6 separate regions of the Homo sapiens genome follow, and all the other regions are linked to region 4. Evidence: promoter capture Hi-C in 16 types of primary human blood cells and fetal thymus (Javierre and others, 2016). All regions are on one chromosome and are shown on one strand. Each heading gives the region's core, a stretch centred on a gene start or on the middle of the fragment in contact. The rest is flanking DNA. Distances are from core to core; before and after follow the strand shown.

What was found. Contacts are between HindIII fragments. The CHiCAGO score rates a contact against its expected background, and 5 or more counts as called.
Region 1: a fragment that was not itself captured here is called in contact with the fragment with the promoter of SNX6 in region 4 in 1 of 17 cell types (neutrophils); the score reaches 5.8 in neutrophils.
Region 2: a contact is called between a fragment that was not itself captured here and the fragment with the promoter of SNX6 in region 4, in 5 of 17 cell types (neutrophils, total CD4 T cells, naive CD8 T cells and 2 more). The highest score is 8.4, in neutrophils.
Region 3: a contact is called between a fragment that was not itself captured here and the fragment with the promoter of SNX6 in region 4, in 2 of 17 cell types (neutrophils and total CD8 T cells). The highest score is 10.4, in neutrophils.
Region 5: a fragment that was not itself captured here is called in contact with the fragment with the promoter of SNX6 in region 4 in 4 of 17 cell types (naive CD4 T cells, non-activated CD4 T cells, total CD8 T cells and 1 more); the score reaches 8.1 in naive CD4 T cells.
Region 6: a contact is called between a fragment that was not itself captured here and the fragment with the promoter of SNX6 in region 4, in 1 of 17 cell types (neutrophils). The highest score is 6.5, in neutrophils.

The regions. Positions count from the first base shown.
Region 1 is chr14:35,020,633-35,023,720 of GRCh38, forward strand. It overlaps SRP54 (signal recognition particle 54), which reads left to right. Exons shown (of 16, transcript NM_003136.4): 14 at 2,278-2,448. Among named protein-coding and RNA genes, the nearest start is that of FAM177A1, 24 kb to the right of the region's middle. The HindIII fragment of the contact is 1,510 bases long and covers 951-2,460 here.
Region 2 is chr14:35,065,181-35,068,181 of GRCh38, forward strand. All of the region lies in intron 2 of FAM177A1 (family with sequence similarity 177 member A1), which reads left to right. Among named protein-coding and RNA genes, the nearest start is that of FAM177A1, 20 kb to the left of the region's middle. The HindIII fragment of the contact is 2,595 bases long and covers 239-2,833 here.
Region 3 is chr14:35,101,054-35,104,166 of GRCh38, forward strand. The region is part of intron 6 of PPP2R3C (protein phosphatase 2 regulatory subunit B''gamma); the gene reads right to left. It overlaps LOC101927178 (a long non-coding RNA gene), which reads left to right. Exons shown (of 5, transcript NR_110415.1): 3 at 1,628-1,676. Among named protein-coding and RNA genes, the nearest start is that of PRORP-PSMA6, 19 kb to the right of the region's middle. RefSeq lists a silencer at 1,676-1,843. The HindIII fragment of the contact is 2,242 bases long and covers 447-2,688 here.
Region 4 is chr14:34,628,851-34,632,148 of GRCh38, forward strand. It overlaps SNX6 (sorting nexin 6), which reads right to left and starts at 1,298. Exons shown (of 14, transcript NM_152233.4): 1 at 1,261-1,298; 2 at 1,057-1,104. The coding sequence starts at 1,266. RefSeq lists a silencer at 1,052-1,401 and an enhancer at 1,572-1,621. The HindIII fragment of the contact is 3,459 bases long and covers 1-1,744 here.
Region 5 is chr14:34,931,049-34,934,394 of GRCh38, forward strand. All of the region lies in intron 2 of SRP54-AS1 (SRP54 antisense RNA 1), which reads right to left. Among named protein-coding and RNA genes, the nearest start is that of SRP54-AS1, 50 kb to the right of the region's middle. The HindIII fragment of the contact is 615 bases long and covers 1,718-2,332 here.
Region 6 is chr14:35,083,316-35,086,383 of GRCh38, forward strand. It overlaps PPP2R3C (protein phosphatase 2 regulatory subunit B''gamma), which reads right to left. Exons shown (of 13, transcript NM_017917.4): 13 at 2,157-2,463. The coding sequence ends at 2,275. The region is part of intron 1 of LOC101927178 (a long non-coding RNA gene); the gene reads left to right. FAM177A1 (family with sequence similarity 177 member A1) reads left to right here. Exons shown (of 5, transcript NM_173607.5): 5 at 1-63. Among named protein-coding and RNA genes, the nearest start is that of PRORP-PSMA6, 37 kb to the right of the region's middle. The HindIII fragment of the contact is 4,348 bases long and covers 1-3,068 here.

The DNA of each region.
Region 1 (3,088 bases), core at 456-2,955, 390 kb after region 4:
GCCCAAATAAGACTGTCTTTTTCTTTTAAGGTTGTTTTTTTTCCTCACTGTCTTTAACACTGCAAAAATGTTTGCATGTAGAATTCATAATTGCAGCATATCTAAAGTATCCATTCTGTGCCAGGCACTGTCCTGAGCACTTTAAATATATTAATTCATTTTATCATCATAACAACTCCTATGGCATATTCAGTTATTATCTGCCTTTTTCAAATTAGGAAACTGGGATACAGGGAAGTTGAGTAATTTGCCCAGTATAGAACCTTTCCTGACTTCCTTCCTTCTTTGAATTAACGCCCCTTCCTCTATTTGCTTAACTCTGTCGTATTACTTGCCACGATGTGCTGCTATTAGTTTATCTTCTTTCATTTGATTTGAGCTGTTGGAAGGAATATAATATATATGTTTCATAAATCTTTTATAAGGAAGATGTGGCTTAAAAGCTGCATTTATGAAATGGATTTGGAGGTTTTGATCGTGACTTTATTTTGAGATATTGTATCTTTGTTAGTATTGCATTGATAATTAGACTTCACCTGGATTTCAGTTCACTTCTGGACAATATACTTAGAGGGTATGTATAGACAAATTAAAAGATGTAGGAAATCAGGATGATAAATGGGGTTCTAAACCATGTTAGAAGAGTCAGAGGTGGATATTTGTCATCCAGCGAAAATTCACAGGAGACATGGTAGCTCTTATGCATTTGAAAGCTGGCCAGGTGCGGTGGCTCTCAACTGTAATCCCAGCATTTTGGGAGGCTGAGGTCGGTGGATCACTTGAGGTCAGGAGTTCGAGACCAGCCTGGGCAACATGGTGAAACCCTGTCTTTACTAAAAGTACAAAAAAAATTAGCTGGCTGTGGTGGCGTGTGCCTATAGTTCCAGCTACTCAGGAGCCTGAGGTGGGAGAATCGCTTGAACCCTGGAGGTGGTGGTTGCAGTGAGCGAAGCTTGCACCACTGCACTCCAGCCTGAGGGACAGAGCAACACTCTGTCTCAAAAAAAAAAAAGATTTTGAAAGCCTTATTTTTTATGCGTAGCAAGGAGACATATACATGAATAGGAATGGAAGTGCCACGTAAATGGATTTCAATTTAATATGTGTAAAGAAAAGATTTTTCCCTAAGTATAACAGAATGGCATAGACAGCCTTACATTAGATAGCAGGTCATCTCTCCTGGGGATATTAAGACCAAGGCTAGATAACCATTTATTTGGGGGATATTGCAGAGGGAATGCAGACATAATGGACATTTTGACTAAAGTCCATCCCATTCCTGAGATTGCATGCAACTGAAGCTAGAAGAAATGCACCTGATATTCTAAGAGTGATCAAACAACTGCGGGAATTAATTCACTATATGCTACTGAGAGAATTAAAATACTAGTAGTAGTAATTACTTGATTATAGGAAATAATTTTTCTGTTGATTATGGATAGAACGTACCTCTTTCTGCTTGCTTATATAGTCTACATTATGAATTTATGATTAATATTTAGGGTAGAGCTAAAGTGAGCATTTGTGTTCATTTTTTAAATATACCATATACCTCTGATGTTTGGAGGGCCTGGAGAGGGTAGACATATGAAGTATGGAAATGTTGGACATGGGGTCTCGAAACATTCTATTAATAGTTTACTTAAACTGTAGGGAAAGTACATGTTTGTTTCATTGTTTTTATAGCTTATGAATACTATAAATGTTCTTTTGAATATATTCCGTATTTTCTTTTTTTTTTTGAGATGGAGTCTCGCTCTGTCGCCCAGGCTGGAGTGCAATGGCGCAATCTTGGCTCACTGCAACCTCTGCCTCCCAGGTTCAAGCGATTCTTCTGCCTCAGCCTCCCGAGTAGCTGGGACTACAGGCACATGCCACCATGCCCAGCTAATTTTTGTATTATTAGTAAAGACAGGGTTTCACCATATTGGCCAGGCTGGTGTCGAACTCCTGACCTCATGAGCTGCCTGCCTCGGCCTCACAAAGTGTTGTGATTACAGGCATGAGCCACCACGCCTGGCCTCCATGTTTAATTTTTAAAACTCAAAAGCAAACATAGCGAATGTTAACATTTGTTAAATCTGGGTGGTAGTTTGACTATGTATTATGTCTGTTTTTCTGTATGTAAGATATTTTGTAATATAAAAAGAAAAATGAGATAGTTATCACTTTAAAAACATCTGCTAAGCTCTTTGAAGTTATATATTGCCCATTTGCACATAACTGCTTTGATGGTGAATGATAATTGTGTGTGAGAGTAACTGACCTTGTCTACAGAACTAGACAGTACGGATGGTGCCAAAGTTTTTAGTAAACAACCAGGAAGAATCCAAAGAGTAGCAAGAGGATCGGGTGTATCAACAAGAGATGTTCAAGAACTTTTGACACAATATACCAAGTTTGCACAGATGGTAAAAAAGATGGGAGGTATCAAAGGACTTTTCAAAGGTAAGAAAAATAAGCTTGTTATTAGTTAACAGACGGAAAAGAAAGGAAGTTGAGAAAAAAGAGTGCTGCCAGTATTGGAAAATTCACAGCTGAATTTCATGTTATTTTCAAGTACTTCCAGGATTTATGTGACCTGTGATTTATCTGTTTTCATATTCAAGGTAATATTAATATTTAAAAAAAAACTTTACATCTGTGTAGTGTGGGTAAATGAAAAAAAATTAATAAAGCAATGATTTTCTTTTTGTGAACACATTATATTAAATTTAGATAATATAAGGAAAAAAAAAACACATTACCTTTACTCCCCAGAGAATCCAGTGGATCCTACTGCAAATAACAGTTGCTATAACTAAGTTTTCTTCTGATATATCATAACTGTTTTTCCATGTTGTCAAATATTCTTCAAAACATAATTCTTGGCCAGGCACGATGGCTCATGCCTGTCATCCTAGCACTTTGGGAGGCTGAGGCGGGCGGATCACTTGAGGTCAGGAGTTCAAGACCAGCCTGGCCAGCATGGTGAAACCCTGCCTCTACTTAAAATACAAAAAATATCCGGGTGTCGTGGGGTGTACCTGTTATCCCAGCTACTCGGGAGGCTGAGGCAGGAGAATCACTTGAACCCAGGAGGCGGAGC
Region 2 (3,001 bases), core at 286-2,785, 440 kb after region 4:
TTTTTTTTTGAGACGGAGTCTCTCTCTCTCTCGCCCAGGCTGGAGTGCGGTGGTGCGATCTTGGCTCACTGCAAGCTCTGCCTTGGAGGGAAACTTTAAATATTAATAGAATACATTATGGTTTAATATATTAAACCATAATGTATTCAGCCACTCAGGAGATTTTTCCATTGAATCTTTTTTTTTTTTTTTTTTTTGCTAGACAACATTCTCATTTCTGTTCAGAAAAAATTTTTAAAGCTTAGAACTAACCAAAGACTTCCACCTGAATAGTTTTTTTCAATTTTTCTCTGATAAGATAAGCACATCTTAAATGCCATTTAGGGAAGTTGCCAACTGAGTATTTGATTACTTTTTGAATCCTTTTATATAGACAGAATGGTGCTCAGGCAGAATATTCTTTAAATAAAAATGTGTTACCTGCTATGCATTTCCTTCAACTTCCACCAGCAATAGATGGCTGTTAATTTTGTTTTTCATTAATGTAGACTTTGTTTTAAAAGGTATAAGAAGCAATTTTTTTTTTTTTTTTTGAGACAGTCACCCTGTCGCTCAGGCTGGAGTGCAGTGGTACGACCTCGGCTCACTGCAACCTCCACCTCCCAGGGTCAAATGATTCTCCTGTCTCAGCTTCCCGAGTAGCTGGGATTACAGGTACCTGCCACCATGCCCAGCTAATTTTTGTGTTTTTAGTAGAGACAGGATTTCACCATCTTGGCCAGACTGGTCAACAGGAGTTGGCCAGACTCCTGACCTCGTAATCCACCCACCTTGGCCTCCCAAAGTGCTGAGATTACAGGTGTGAGCCACTGCACCCTGCCTAGAAACAAAGTATTAAAGCCATTGTCTGATAATATGAAAATCGTAGGAATTCTAATCCTTTTTTTTAAATTTTTTTCTTTTTGAGACAAGGTCTTCCTCTGTTGCCCAGGCTGTAGTAAAGTGGCATGATGATGGCTCACTGTAGCCTTGACCTCCTGGGCTCAAACGATCTTTCCACCTCAGCCTCCTAAGTAGCTGGGACTACAGATATAGGCCACCACACCTGTCTAATTTTTAAAATTTTTTGTAGAGATAAGGTCTCATTATGTTGCCCAGGCTGGTCTTGGACTCCTCGGCTCAAATGATCCTCCTATTTTGGCCTCCCAAAGTGCTGGGATTACAAGCATGAGTTCCTGGCCTCAAATCCATTTTTCTTGTGTTGTTTAAAGTAGTAAAAGAGCATCTTTTTTTTTTTTTTTTTGAGACAGAGTGTCACTCTGTTGCCCAGGCTGGAGTGCAGTGGCGTAATCTCGGCTCACTGCAACCTCTGCCCTTGGGATCAAGCAATTCTCCTGCCTCAGTCTCCCTTGTAGCTGGGATTACAGGTGTGCGCTACCACTCCTGGCTAATTTTTGTATTTTTAGTAGAGACGAGGTTTCACCATGATGGCTAGGCTGGTCTCAAACTCCTGACCTCAAGTGATCTGCCCGCCTCAGCCTCCCAAAGTGCTGGGATTACAGGCGTGAGCCACCGCGCCTGGCCATAAAAGAGCATCTTGATGCCAACTTGATGTATATATTTAAATGCCATTGTTATAGTTAATGGAATGTATACATAATAGAGGCTTTTGAATCTTGAATCTTTTTTTTTTGAGACGGAGTTTTGCTCTTGCCCAAGCTGGAGCGCAATGGCACAATCTCAGCTCACCGCAACCTCTGCCTCCTGGGTTAAAGCGATTCTCCTATCTCAGCCTCCCTTGTAGCTGGGATTACAGGCATGCGCCACCACGCCTGGCTAATTATGTATTTTTATAGGGACGGGGTTTCTCCATGTTGGTCAGGCTAGTCTCAAACTCCCAACCTCAGGTGATCTGCCCACCCTGGCCTCCCGAAGTTCTGGGATTACAGGTGTGAGCTACCATGCCCAGCCCAATTTTCTGTTTTTATTAAACATATTTATTGCCTCAAGTACTTACCATTTATTCTTCCTAACTGTAACATTGAGCTCTTTGACCAACATCTCCCCATTTCCCCTTAACCCCCAGCCTCTGGTAACCACCATTGTGCTCTCTGTTTCTATGAGTTCAGTTTTGGATTCCACATAAAAGTGAAAACGTGGCATTATGCCTTTCTGTGCCTGGGTTATTTCAGTAGCATAATGTCCTCCAGGTTCATCCACGTTGCACAAATGACAGAATTCCCTATTTTTAAAGGCTGAATTGTATTTCATTTTGTATATATGTCACATTTTCTTTATCCATTCATCTGATATGGACACCTAGGTTGGTTCCATAATGTGGCCATTGTGAATAATGATGTAATAAACATGGGAGTGCAGATATCTCTTTGATATACTGATTCCAGTTCCTTTCAATATATATTCAGAAATTGAATTGCTGGATTATATAGTAATTCTGTTTTTAATTTTTTGAGGAACCTCCATCCTGTTTTCCAAAATGGCTGTACTGATTTGCATTCCCACCAAGTGCACCTGGGTTCCCTTTTCTCTACATCCTTGCCAACATTTGTTATCTTTTATCTTTTTGATAATATCCATTTTGACAGGTATGTGGTGATATCTCATTGTGATTTTAATTTGCCTTTCCTTAATGATTAGTGATGTTGAACATTTTTTCATATATCTGTTGACTATTCATATGCCTTCTCTTGAGAAGTATCTGTTCAGGTCCTTAGCCTAGTTTTTAATTAGGTTGTTTTTTTGCTTTTGAGTTGTTTAAGTTCTTTACATATTTTGGATATTAACCCCTTATCAAATGTATGGCTTGCAAGTATTTTCTCCCAATCCATGGGTTGTCACTTCACTGTGTTGATTGTTTCTTTTACTGTGCAGAAGCTTTTTATTTTGATGTAATCCCATTAGTCTGGTTTTGGTTTTGTTGCCTGAGCTTTTGGGGTCAAATCCAAAAAAGTATTGCCCAGACCAATGTTATGTAGTTTTCCCTTATGTTTTCTTCTAGTAGTTTTACATGGATAATTTTTCCAATATGTATTTCAGAATC
Region 3 (3,113 bases), core at 318-2,817, 470 kb after region 4:
CAACCTCCACCTCCCGGGTTCAAGCGATTCTCCTGCCTCAGCCTCTTGAGTAGCTGGGACTACAGTCGCGTGCCACCATGCCTGGCTAATTTTTTGTATTTTTAGTAGAGACAAGGTTTCACCGTGTTAGCCAGGATGGTCTCGATCTCCTGACCTCGCGATCTGCCTGCCTTGGCCTCCCAAAGTGCTGGGATTACAGGCGTGAGCCACCATGCCCAGCCAAATATACTCCTTTTAATGACATAAATCTTTGCAAAGCTAGGTTTTGATGGTTCCTGTGGTAAAGTACCACACAAAAATTAGTGAACAGGAAATGAGGAGGGCAAGTGTCCAGTCTAATTCCCAGGTTTAAGTAGTTGTACACATCCCATTAATAACTGTACTTAAGAATGAAATAAAAATATCTTCTTTCAACTTAAGTGTATTATTTATTCAAATGGCTAATAAGCTTAATGAATACTCATTAAATTGTTTAAAATTAACTAGTTAATAAGTGAAACTTTTAGGGATTTCTTTTGGCTCAGAAGCACTGTGAAAAAATTACTCAAACACTAAAGGTGTCAATTCAAACTTTCTGATCTTTGCTAATTTGATAGGGGAAAAATGGCAACTTAGTGTAGATTTATCTGGCATTTCTCTTATGTGAAGTTAGTTGTTTCTTATGATTAAGAAGCATTTGAATTTTACTTTTTATACATTATCTATATCTTTGTCCAGTTTTTTATTGGGTTAATGGCTTTCTTCTTGATTTCTGGGAGCTTTTTATATATTAGGGTAATTGGCCATTTCTGACTGTTTCAGGTATTTCCCCCAGTTTGTTGTTTTCTTTTTACTTTAACATGGGCTTTGCCCTATAGATCTTTAAAAATTTAGCTGAATTTATTGTTTTCTAGACTTCTGGGTTTTGTCATACTTAGAAAGGCTTTCCCTATTACAGGATTATAAATTTAAAAGCCTTCCATGGTTTCTCTCTCTCTTTTTTTTTTTTTTTTTGAGACGGAGTCTCAGTCCAGTCCAGGCTGGAGTGCAGTGGCGCAATCTCAGCTCACTGAAACCTCCACCTCTTGGGTTCAAGCGATTCTTGTGTCTCAGCCTGAGTAGCCAGGATTACAGGCACGTACCACCACGCCTGGCTAATTTTTGTATTTTTAGTAGAGAGGGGGTTTCGCCATGTTGGCCAGGCTGGTCTCGAACTCCTGACCTCAAGTGATCTGCCTGCCTTGGCCTCCCAAAGTGCTGGAATTACAGGCGTGAGCCACTGTGCCTTCCCATGGTTTCTTATACTTATTTTAACAATGTTATTTTTGCTTTAACCATTTCAAATATCAAATTTCTGGTAGATCTGAGATACTTTCAAGTTTATAGGACAACTGGCATCTCAAACTTGAAGTATCCAAAATGGGGCTCTCTTGTCATCTCCAACCTTGGTCCTCACCTGCTTTTCCTCTATTCCAACAGTTACTCAAAATAAAAATTTAAGACTTGTCTTTGGCTTCTCTTTTTCTTCATCAATGCCTTCACACTCCTTACCCTGAACATCCAATCTAGCAGCAATTTGTGTTTTTTCTGGGAAGGAGGGGAGTCCAAAATATATATTGAATTAATCTATTTCTTGCTTTCTCTACAGCCACCAATTACCCTAGTTATGGGCCCATCATCTCACCTGGACTATCATGGTAGGTGCCTAAATATTTTGCTTATACTCCAGATTTATTTATCTATTTAGAGATGGAGCCTTGCTCTGTCGCCCAAGCTGGAGTGCAGTGGCTCAATCTTGGCTCACTGCAACCTCCATCCCCTGGGTTCAAGTGATTCTCCTGCCTCAGCCTCCAAGTAGCTGGGATTACAGGTGCCTACCCCCATACCCAGCTAATTTTTGTATTTTTAGTGGAGACGGGGTTTCGTCATGTTGGCCAGGCTGGTCTTGAACTCCCGAGCTCAAGCGATCCACCTGCCTCGGCCTCCCAAAGTTGCTGGGATTACGGGCATGAGCCACCGTGCCTGGCCGTACTTTGAGTTCCTTACATCCTCCATACAGCATCCAGAATGATCTTTTAAAATGTAAATCATATCCTGACAGACTCAGCTTAAAACTTCCGATGGTTTCCCGTTAGCCTCAAAATAAATCCAAAGTCCTTACTGTGGCCCAAAAGGCCCTACATGTGGCCCCTGCCTACTTCTCCAACTTCATTTTCTGTTACTATAGTCCTTGTTCTAGCCACACTGGCTTCCTTCTGTTCCTAGAACAGGTCCAGGCTTAATTTTGCCTTGGAGACACTGTATTTGCCGTTTCCTCTATACTACATCTTCATAAGGCTGGCTTCTTTCTCGTACTTCATGGCTAAAACTTAATCACTATCTCAAAAAGATGCTCCTTCCAGCCTACCTAAAATCGTCTGTCAATCCCAGTCATATTCCTGCCTAGTTTACTGTTTTATTTTCTACATATAACTTGTCACTATTTGATATTATCTGCTTATAATTTAGTGTCTGTCTTCCCACTCTGCTAGAAAAAATAGGTCTACAAGGGAATGAAAATTGTACTGTGTCCCTGGAAAGGTTTTAAAGTATAACATTTAGAATGAGCTAACAGATTCCATCTACAGAAATCTGGGCAAGAAAACAAAAAAAAGAAAAAAAAGAAATCTGGGCAAACAGATTGTCACAAAGTAAAACATGAGCCCTACAAGCTTAGAATAATACCTGCCCCCAAATAAATGTCTACTAAATGCTTAATAAGATTTAATAAGTGAATAAAACTTTGTATACTCTACTCAGATTATAAATGTTGGTCTGGAAGCCACTGCCTTTCAAATTAGTAAGACACAAAGTCTGGGTTTCAAAAGGCAATGGGCCAAGGATGGAAGAAATACTTTGAGAAAAGTGTTTTCTTTCATTGAGAGAAGGGGAAAATTATTCCTTTTTAAAAACAACTATAGAAGTACACTGTTTCTTTTCTCTCCCTTTTGCTCATCTCTCTTTCAATCTTTGTTTCCATCCATGGAAAGAGGCAAGACAAGCAGTAACAGGGGACTGTTTTTATAAATCAATATTGCTGTTTTTATAAATCAAGTGAACTGCTAACAAGAATTCTCAGAGCTAGAGAAGTACTC
Region 4 (3,298 bases), core at 48-2,547:
GTAATTATCATATATCAACATTTTCCAAGTGCTCACTTGTACAAGGGACTATAAAGATTACCACCCTTCAGCCAAGGAAAAAGGGGGTGGAGAGTGGGGTGGGAGGGAGGAATCAGAGCCCGGAAGGCTCTTTCTGAAGTAGAATGCAACTAACCTCAGAACACCAAGGGCAGAATGGAGGTTATCAAAGGCCTGGCGGAGTGTGTATGTGGGGGGTGAGTGGGTGGAGCGTCGATGTTGGTCAAAGGGTACATACTTGAAATTTGCTTAGATCTCAAATGTTCTCACACAAAAAAAAATGGTAACTAGGTGAGGTGATGGATATGTCAGGTTGATTTTGGTACTCATTTCACAATGTATTCGTGTATTAAAATATAATGTATACCTTAAGTATATACAATTATCAACAGTATTTGTCAATATACCTCAAAGAAGCTAAGGGGGAATAAAACACCAAGGAAATCCTGCCAAAGACAGGATTTGTTGGATATTAGAAAAAGTAAAGATACCATGGGCTACCTGCACTTTGCATAATCTAGTAGGGCACTGGACAGGAGTTGATTCGGCTACTATAAAAATCCTTGCAAAATGGTAATGTAGACTACACCTGTACTATTTGAGAGAGACAGAAGGGTGGGCGGGAGCAAGTTCGAGATGTCCACACCGGGTGAAAATTGAGGGTGCCGCTGGGAAGGTCCGAGAATGGGTTTTCATGGCCCCAAAGTGTCGAGGGAGGGTGGGGGCGTTCCATCTCCCGCCTCCATTTCCACTTCGCCACCTGCACCCCGCCCCGCGTGGGAGTGGAGGTCCACCAGAAGGCCCGAACAGCGGCGGGGGACAAGAAAGCGGCCGCGGGTCCCCGGGAATCGGAGCCGAGCGGCCCCTAGGGAGGAAGGGCTGCGGGAGGGTGGGGCGCGGTGCAGCGAGGAAACCGAAAGGAGGACTACGGGGAGGGAGTGCCGCGCGGCTGGGGACCCATCCCCGTACCACACCCGGGGACCCAGGATGGGGAAGGAGGGTCCAGGGTCCCGCGAGCGAAAGGAAGGCAGAACTTACTCCGCGGTCCTCTTCTGAGAGGAAGTCCGGGCCGTCGTCCAGGCCTTCCTGTGGGGTCGGCGGGCACGGCGCGCCGGGGAAAAGGATGAGATGGGGGAGACACAAAGGGAGACATTAGTGACAGGCTGGCGCGGTCCCCGCGCCCGCCCCGCGCCCGCTGCCCCCACCGCGCTCCCGGGACTCGGCGCCGCGGAGAACACCCACCATCATGGCTGCTCCGAGGCGAGGGCCGGCGCAGGCGCGCATCTCCCTGCTGCCGGAGGGAGCCGGCGGCCAGGAGCGGGGCGGGGCGGGGCGGAGGCGAAGGGGCGGGGCCTAAGGACGGCCCGCCCCGTCCCCGGCGCTGGTCGCTCGAGTCCGTGAGCGAGGAAGGTTAACAGGGCCTTCTGCCCAAGGTCAAGGCACCGAAGTCGGGAGAGCCTGAAGACCCAGACCTCATGGCTGGGGGCACCTCGCAGCTGGCGGGCTCTGACCAGGGAAGGGCCAAAGGCCACCCAGGGAGCTCTCCAGTTCCCCTGCCCCGAGGGCTCCAGCGAAAAACGATGCAGGCGCCCTCCGGAAGCCATAATACATCATCTGGTCTTTGTATTATGCCACACGATAATTAATCACAATTAATATCATTTTGCCTATGGAAGTTGCTGGAAACAAGGACCTTCACACAGTCGGTAATCAGGGACTATAATCAAGCTTTTACCGCTGGCGAGGTAATAACTACCTCAGAGTTTGGGGCACTAATGGTTGCGAACTATAAAAATGAGCTGTTTTCATTACAAAAATATTCCTTTCCTTTGTTAGAAGAAATTTCCCCACACCTACTCTAACTGTCCAGGTGGTTAGCATCACACGGGATCCACAGGCATTTCAAATAACGGGAGAAAATCATACTTAATCCTAGAATCTACACGTTCCTGAGCTTGCATTCAGTTAAGGAAAGGCATCTTCAGATGTTCAGACCAGAAACCCTTAACCCATTGAAATCCGTACTCTAGGGGCCGGGCGCTGTGGCTCACGTCTCTAATTCCAGCACTTTGGGAGGCCAAGGCGGGCGGATCACCTGAGGTCAGGAGTTTGAGACCATCCTGGCTAACATGGTGAAACCCCGTCTCTACTAAAAATACAAAAATTAGCCGGGCGTGGTGGCGCGTGCCTGTAATCTCAGCTACTTGGGAGGCTGAAGCAAAAGAATCGCTTGAACCTGGAAGGCAGAGGTTGCAGTGAGCCGAGATTGCACCACTGCACTCCAGCCTGGGCAACAGAGCAAGACTCTGTCTCAAAAAAAGAAAGAAATAAATCCTTATCTCCCTTACTCCTCATATCCAACCAAATCCTATGGCTTCTACAATTGATTGTCCTTCATACCTCTTTTTTTTTTTTTTTTGAGACAGAGTCTCGCTCTGTCGCCCAGGCTGGAGTGCAGTGGTGCGATCTCGGCTCACTGTAAGCTCCACCTCCAGGGTTCACGCCATTCTCCTGCCTCAGCCTCCCGAGTAGCTGGGACTACAGGTGTGTGCCACCACACCCGGCTAATTTTTTTGTATTTTTAGTAGGACAGGATTTCACCATGTTAGCCAGGAAGGTCTTGATCTCCTGACCTCATGATCCGCCCGCCTCGACCTCCCAAAGTGCTGGGATTACAGGTGTGAGCCACTGCGCCCAGCCCATACCTCTTTAATTAGTCCAATTTTTCCAGTTCTCACAGCAATTACCATCAACTCTCGTCTACACCTTTGCAATACTCTCCTGACTCCACTATTTTCCATCACTTTATCCTATTTTACACACTGCTGCCAGTTTTCCTCCTAAAACACAGATATTGATGATTATGCTACTACCCTGTTCAGTAATCTTTACAAGCCCCCATTACATAACGATTCAATTCCTCAGCCTACGATTTCAAGCCTTCTACATTTGAATCCCTCTCTACTCTGCCAGGCCCTCCATCCTATTTTATTGAAGTGAAGCTCTCAAAACAATATTAAACTTAACTGATATTTTGGCCGGACGCAGTGGCTCACACCTGTAATCCCAGCACTTTGGGAGGCCAAGGGGGGCAGATCATCTGAGGTCAGGAGTTCAAGACGAGCCTGGCCAACATGGTGAAACCTCATCTCTACTAAAAATACAAAAATTAGCTGGGTGAGGTGGTGCGCACCTGTAATCCCAGCTACTCGGGAGGCCAAGGCAGGAGAATTGCTTGAACTCGGGAGGCAGAGGTTGCAGTGAGCCAAGATCATGCCAC
Region 5 (3,346 bases), core at 775-3,274, 300 kb after region 4:
GGCTGGAGTGGATATGGATGTCCTATACCTAATCAATCTCCAGCTACTGGACGTTTAGGTGGTTTCCAATTTACTACCATTATAAAACAACACTGTAGTAAACCATCATACAGAAATCATTTTGCAAATATCCGATTATTTTCTTAAGTTTTTAGAAACTGAACTGTTTAGTCAAGGTATTTAAACATTTTTAAGGCCTTTGTGACACTGCTGTCAGCAACAGATGAGGATTTCCTATTCTGATGGGTGGAACTTTTCTAGGGGTGGTAATATCTCTTACGTGAAGTCTTGTTTTGTTTTGAAGATGCAGGAAGTTATATAACAGAGACTTTCCTTGCTGGCACACTGTACCAGGAAGGAGACACAGCACTCTATCCACCCTACTTGGCCAGTTTGGTATTTGAATGGAAAGGGCAAGTTTGTTTTTGAGGTGGTGTGTCACACTTGTGTCATGTGAGACACAATATGTAGATCAAAGAGGAGAAAAACCTTTGGGCAATTCTATTAGTCTTCAGTGTGCTTTTGCTAAATATCTTCAATTAAGCAATCTATTACAGATGGATGGTACTGGTTTTTCTTCCCTGAATCCTCCCCTCTTCAAAGGTGATAACTAATTTCATTATTTTCATTAAATATCCATAGACTGAAAGATCAGGTTCTCAAAGATAGTTTCTTTAATTGTAAACTGTCTAATTTTTACTAAAACAAATAAAAAGAAAACCAAGTGGTATTAACTTTGATTTGAGTATATGTGTGATGAGGGTTAATCCTTTCCTGTTTTAATGTGTATGATACGAAGTGTATCTGCCTCAATTTTTATTTATTTATTTTTTGAGACAGAGTCTTGCTCTGTCGTCCAGGCTGGAATGCAGTGGTGCAATCTCGGCTCACTGCAATCTCCGCCCTTGGTTCAAGTGATTCTCCTGCCTCAGCCTCCTGAGTAGCAGGGATTACAGGTGTGTGCCACCATGCCAGGCTAATTTTTGTATTTTTAGTAGAGATAGGGTTTTGTCATGTTGGCCAGGCTCGTCTCAAACTCCTGACCTCAGGTGATCCGCCCACCTTGGCCTCCCAAAGTGCTGGGATTATAGGGGTGAGCTACCATGCCTGGCCCTGTCTCAAATTTTAGTGCAGTGCAATCTATCACTAAGAAATTTCAGGCCGGGCGCGGTGGCTCACGCCTGTAATCCCAGCACTTTGGGAGGCCGAGGCGGGCGGATCACGAGGTCAGGAGATCGAGACCATCCTGGCTAACACGGTGAAACCCCACCTCTACTAAAAATACAAAAAATTAGCTGGGCGTGGTGGCGGGCGCCTGTAGTCCCAGCTACTGGGGAGGCTGAGGCAGGAGAATGGCGTGAACCCGGGAGGTGGAGCTTGCAGTGAGCCCAGATCGCGCCACTGCACTCCAGCCTGGGTGACAGCGAGACTCCGTCTCAAAAAAAAAAAAAAAAAAAAAAAAAAAAAAAAAGAAATTTCAAAGCTGTTATTTAAGATGTTAATTATATAATATACAAATATCACGGTTGTGTGGTTTAACCTGTTAAGACATGCTTAGAAAAGAGAACGTGAGTATACTGACTTTATTACAAGCCTATATTGGAAGATATATGGTAATACATAGGTATGTATAACTCCCTGATAACAATAGGTTATGCATTATTTAAAAACATAATGTCAAACAGCATTACAGTTGGTAATTTATTTAAAGACTACAAGCTTGCTTGTCTGTTCACTACTGCATTTCTATCCTGAACATTTCTGGATATATTACTATATATCAGGTTTATATACTTTTACTATAGGTATATAAATATTTGCTGAATGAATAAAATAGGAAGATAATTTTAAAAGGTAAAAAATGGCATTTAATTTATAAAACATAATAAACAAAAGTTCTAAATCGTATTAAGTTCTAAAACAAACCAGATTTGTCAACATAATTCCAAGTTTAATTCCAAACTTAAAAATGGTAGCATGTAATATCAGTTCACTGAATATTGTAATTAGATATTAAAAGTTCAGATATGAGTAGTAAAGGCAGAGTGGGACTTGTAATACCAGGGTCAAAGGTAGTGCTTGGGGTCTGACTAAATATTTGAAAAAGGACATCAACCTGTGTGGGCAGGTGTTTATGAAGGATGAGAAAGAAGGCAACTTCTTTTTTTCTCTGGTTCTGTGGGCTTCTCTTTAACTTTTGTTTTTTCACTCTTTATCATCCAAAACTAAAGGATTCATGAACTTTGAAGGATCTGAGCAATCGATCTTTGTAAATAGGTAACTTGACACAGTCTTAGGGGAATTAATGATAGTGTATGATAGACTTAATGGAAGCTTAGAAAACACTCTTTTTTTGGTTAACTACCATAGGCACTCTATTTATTTATTTATTTACTAAAGGCTAGCCAAGTGAAGCAGTGGGAGTAGAGAAAGAACAAAGAAATCTGGAACTGGTTGTGATTAATTAGTCATAAACCACTGCACTCGGACCAGCCCATATGCACTCTTTAAAACTTAAAACTTTTTACCAAAATCTTAAATATCAGAACAAGTCAGAAAGCTTGTTTTTTTTAAACCTTGTTTTTATTATGAAATGTATTACACATAACAAAAACTTCATAAAACATATATATAGATTTAAAAAATAATAAAGAAACATTTATGTACTCACCAGCTTAAGAATAATTTTTTGGGTGGGCACAGGGGCTCATGCCTGTAATCTCAGCACTTTGGGAGGCTGAGACTGGAGGATCACTTGAGCCCTGGAGTTTGAGACCAGCCCAGGCAACAGAGACCCCATCTTCACAAAAAATAAAAAATTAGGCTGGGCATGGTGGCTCACGCCTGTAATCCCAGCTCTTTGGGAGGCTGCGGTGGGTGGATCACAAGGTCAAGAGATAGAGGCCAACATGGCGAAACGCTGTCTCTGCTAAAAATACAAAAATTAGCTGGGCGTGGTGGTGTGTACCTGTAATTCCAGCTACTCAGGAGGCTGAGGTAGGAGAATCACTTGAACTCAGGAGGCAGAGGTTGCAGGGAGCTAAGATCGTGTCACTAAACTCCAGCCAGGTGACAGAGTGAGACTGTCTCAAAAAAAAAAAAAAAAAAGAAAGAAAAAGAAAAAGAAAATTAGCCAAGTGTGGTGGCTCACACCTGTAATCCTAGCACTTTGGGAGGCTGGGGTGGGCAAACTGCTCGAGCCCAGGAGTTTGAGACCAGCCTGGGCAACTTCGTGAAACTCTGTTTCTACAAAAAAAATTTAAAAATTAGCTGGGCGGCCGGGCGCCGTGGCTCACATCTGTAATCCCAGCACTTTGGGAGGCCGAGGCAGGTGGATCACGAGGTC
Region 6 (3,068 bases), core at 302-2,801, 450 kb after region 4:
TTATTCACTGTGCCTTAAGTTTATACTTTGTTTATGCAAACTATAAAATTTCCCATAAATGTATTCAATGGTTTGTCTTACTTTAAGCCTCTTTCACTCACTTTTTCCTATCTCCTTTTCAGTCCTTTTAAGAATTCCAGTTCCAGCTGGGCACGGTGGCCCACGCCTGTAGTCCCAGCACTTTGGGAGGCCAAGGTGGGCGGATCACTAGGTCAGGAGTCCGAGACCAACCTGGCCAACATGGTGAATTAGTAGAGATGGATTTCTACTAAAAATACAAAAATTAGCCGGGCATGGTAGCAGGTGCTTGTAATCCTAGCTGCTCGGGAGGCTGAGGCAGGAGAGTCACTTGAGCCTGGGAGGCGGAGGTTGCAGTGAATGGAGTTTGCACCATTGTACTCCAGCCTGGGCGACACAGCAAGACTCGTCTCCAAAAAAAAAAAAAAAAACAGAATTCCAGTTCCTTCTGGATCATAGTTCATATTTACCTTCTTCTAATCTTTCAGCATCTCATAAAAACTAAATGTAATGTATAACTGAAGTCTTTATCCTGAATTAACATAAATTCTTTAACAAAAATCCTTAACAAAATGAAGTTTGTTTTTTGGTTTGGGACAGGGTCTTACTGTGTTGCCCAGGCTGGAGTGCAATAGTGCAATCATGGCTCACTCCAGCCTCGACCTCCTGGGCTTAAGCAGTCCTTCCCTGTCAGCCTCCTAAGGATCTGGGACTACAGGCTCACACCACCATGCCCAGCTAATGTTTTTTATTTATTTTTTGTAGAGACTTGGTTTTGCCATGTTGTCCGGGCTTGGAATTAAGTTTTGTAAAATGTAACTCTGGTATTGGTTAATAAAACTAGACAATTTTTTTTTTTTTTTTTTTGAGATGATGGAGTCTCACTCTGTTGCCAGGCTGGAGTGCAGTGGCTCAATCTTGGCTCACTGCAAGCTCCGCCTCCCGGGTTCACGCCATTCTCCTGCCTCAGCCTCCTGAGTAGCTGGGACTACAGGCACCCTCCACCACGCCCAGCTAATTTTTTGTATTTTTAGTAGAGACGGGGTTTCACTGTGTTAGCCAGGATGGTCTCAATCTCCTGAACTCGTGATCCGCCCACCTCAGCCTCCCAAAGTGCTGGGATTACAGGCGTAAGCCACCGTGCCCAGCCAACAAATTTTTTATACCAATGATTTTCATGAAAGTAAAATACTAGTTTGAATACATTTTATTAAAACATCCAATTAAAAGAAAGAACAAGGCTGGGCACGTGGCTCACGTATCACTGTGAATCATGGTGGCTATAGTCCCAGCACTTTGGGAGGCCGAGGCAGGCGGATCACCTGAGGTCAGGAGTTCGAGACCAGCCTGGCCAACATGGCAAGACCCCCATCTCTACTAAAAATACAAAAATTAGCCAGGCATGGTGGTGCACACCTGAAGTCCCAGCTGCTTAGGAGGCTGAGGCAGGAGAATCGCTTGAAGCTAGGAGGTGGAGGCTGCAGTGAGCAGAGATCATGCCACTGCACTCCAGCCTGGGCAACAGACGGAGACTGTCTCAAGAGAAAAAAAAAAAAAACCGCAAAACAAAAAGGCTGGGCGTGGTGCCTCACACCTGTAATCCCAGTACTTTGGGAGGCCGAGGCGGGCAGATGACTTGAGGTCAGGAGTTTGAGACCAGCCTGGCCAACATGGTGAAACCCTGTCTCTGCTAAAATACAAAAATTAGCCAGGTGTGTTGGCAGGCGCCTATAATCCCAGCTACTCAGGAGGCCGAGGCAGGAGAATCACTTGACCCCCCCTAAAAAAAAATCCTAATCCTAACCCAGAAATAAAATGGCTCTACTCATGAATGGGAAAGTTTGTCATCTTTGAGATTTTATATATATAGACACACACACACACACATGTTGTGTGTATATATATATGCACTGTCAGTCAAATATTCACATTCTAAATGACTGTCAGAAATATTCCATGGAAACTTCATCTCTGAAGATTATACAGATTTAAACTGAACATCATCTACCTACAGCAAATCACACTTCCCATCTTTGAACTAAAAGGAACCAGAACTTACCCCACCTCCTAACAAGCAATATTTGGTCCTATTGCTTCTAAACTATTGCAACCAAAATTCCAGTAACCAAAACATTTGCTGTGTTCTCTAGGCATATCAAGTGTTTTATTTAGACCATTTCTGAGGATTTTGCTTTAAAGGCTTTACATGCAGCATTCAAGTATCTCATAATATAAGACAGTCTAGTCTTTCAGAGATCATGTATCATCAAGGTCTGCAGAGTTTTCACTGTCATTTGCAACAAGAGCCTCTCTGTTCTCGTAAGTCCAGAAGCCATTCAAATCGATTAGAATGGTGGTTACTGTGTCTCCTTGATTACTGTTGATTAAATCCTGAAGAGAGATTTTCAAAGGATCCTTTGGTTTTACCATGTCAAAGATTTCATCCTGCAAGAGAAAAAAAAATACAATGAAATTTGATCCACTTAATTTCTATCACACATAGTGATCCAAAATTCAGGGCTGTTTGCATCCACTGAAGTACAGAGGAATAAAATTGAGGGCTGCCACTTGGGCTTATGTTAATTTTTTGTTCTACTTTTTTTCTTTTCCATTTAACAGGCAGTTTCCTTTTCTCTACCTACAACCACAAAATTTTATTGGATAACTCCTTAGCTATGTGATAGCTATCCTTCGTTTTATAGATGAAGAAACCAAGGCTCAGTGCCTAATCTAGCTACATAGGTAATTAGTGGCAGAACTATCTAATGCAGTGTTCAGGGACTGCACGTTAACTAGTTTCTTATATATTTTTCTGTTGCCTTCTAATTGGTGAAACAAAGTTTTGTCTGTAGTTTTTGTTTTTGTTGTTTTGTTTTGTTTTTGAGATGGAGTCTCACTCTGTCATCCAGGCTGGAGTGCAGTAGTGCGATCTTGGCTTACTGCAACCTCCGCCTCCTGGGTTCAAGCGATTCTTCTGCCTCAGCCTCCCGAGTAGGTGGGACTACAGGTGCACGCCACCACACCCAGCTAATTTTTGTATTTTTAGTAGA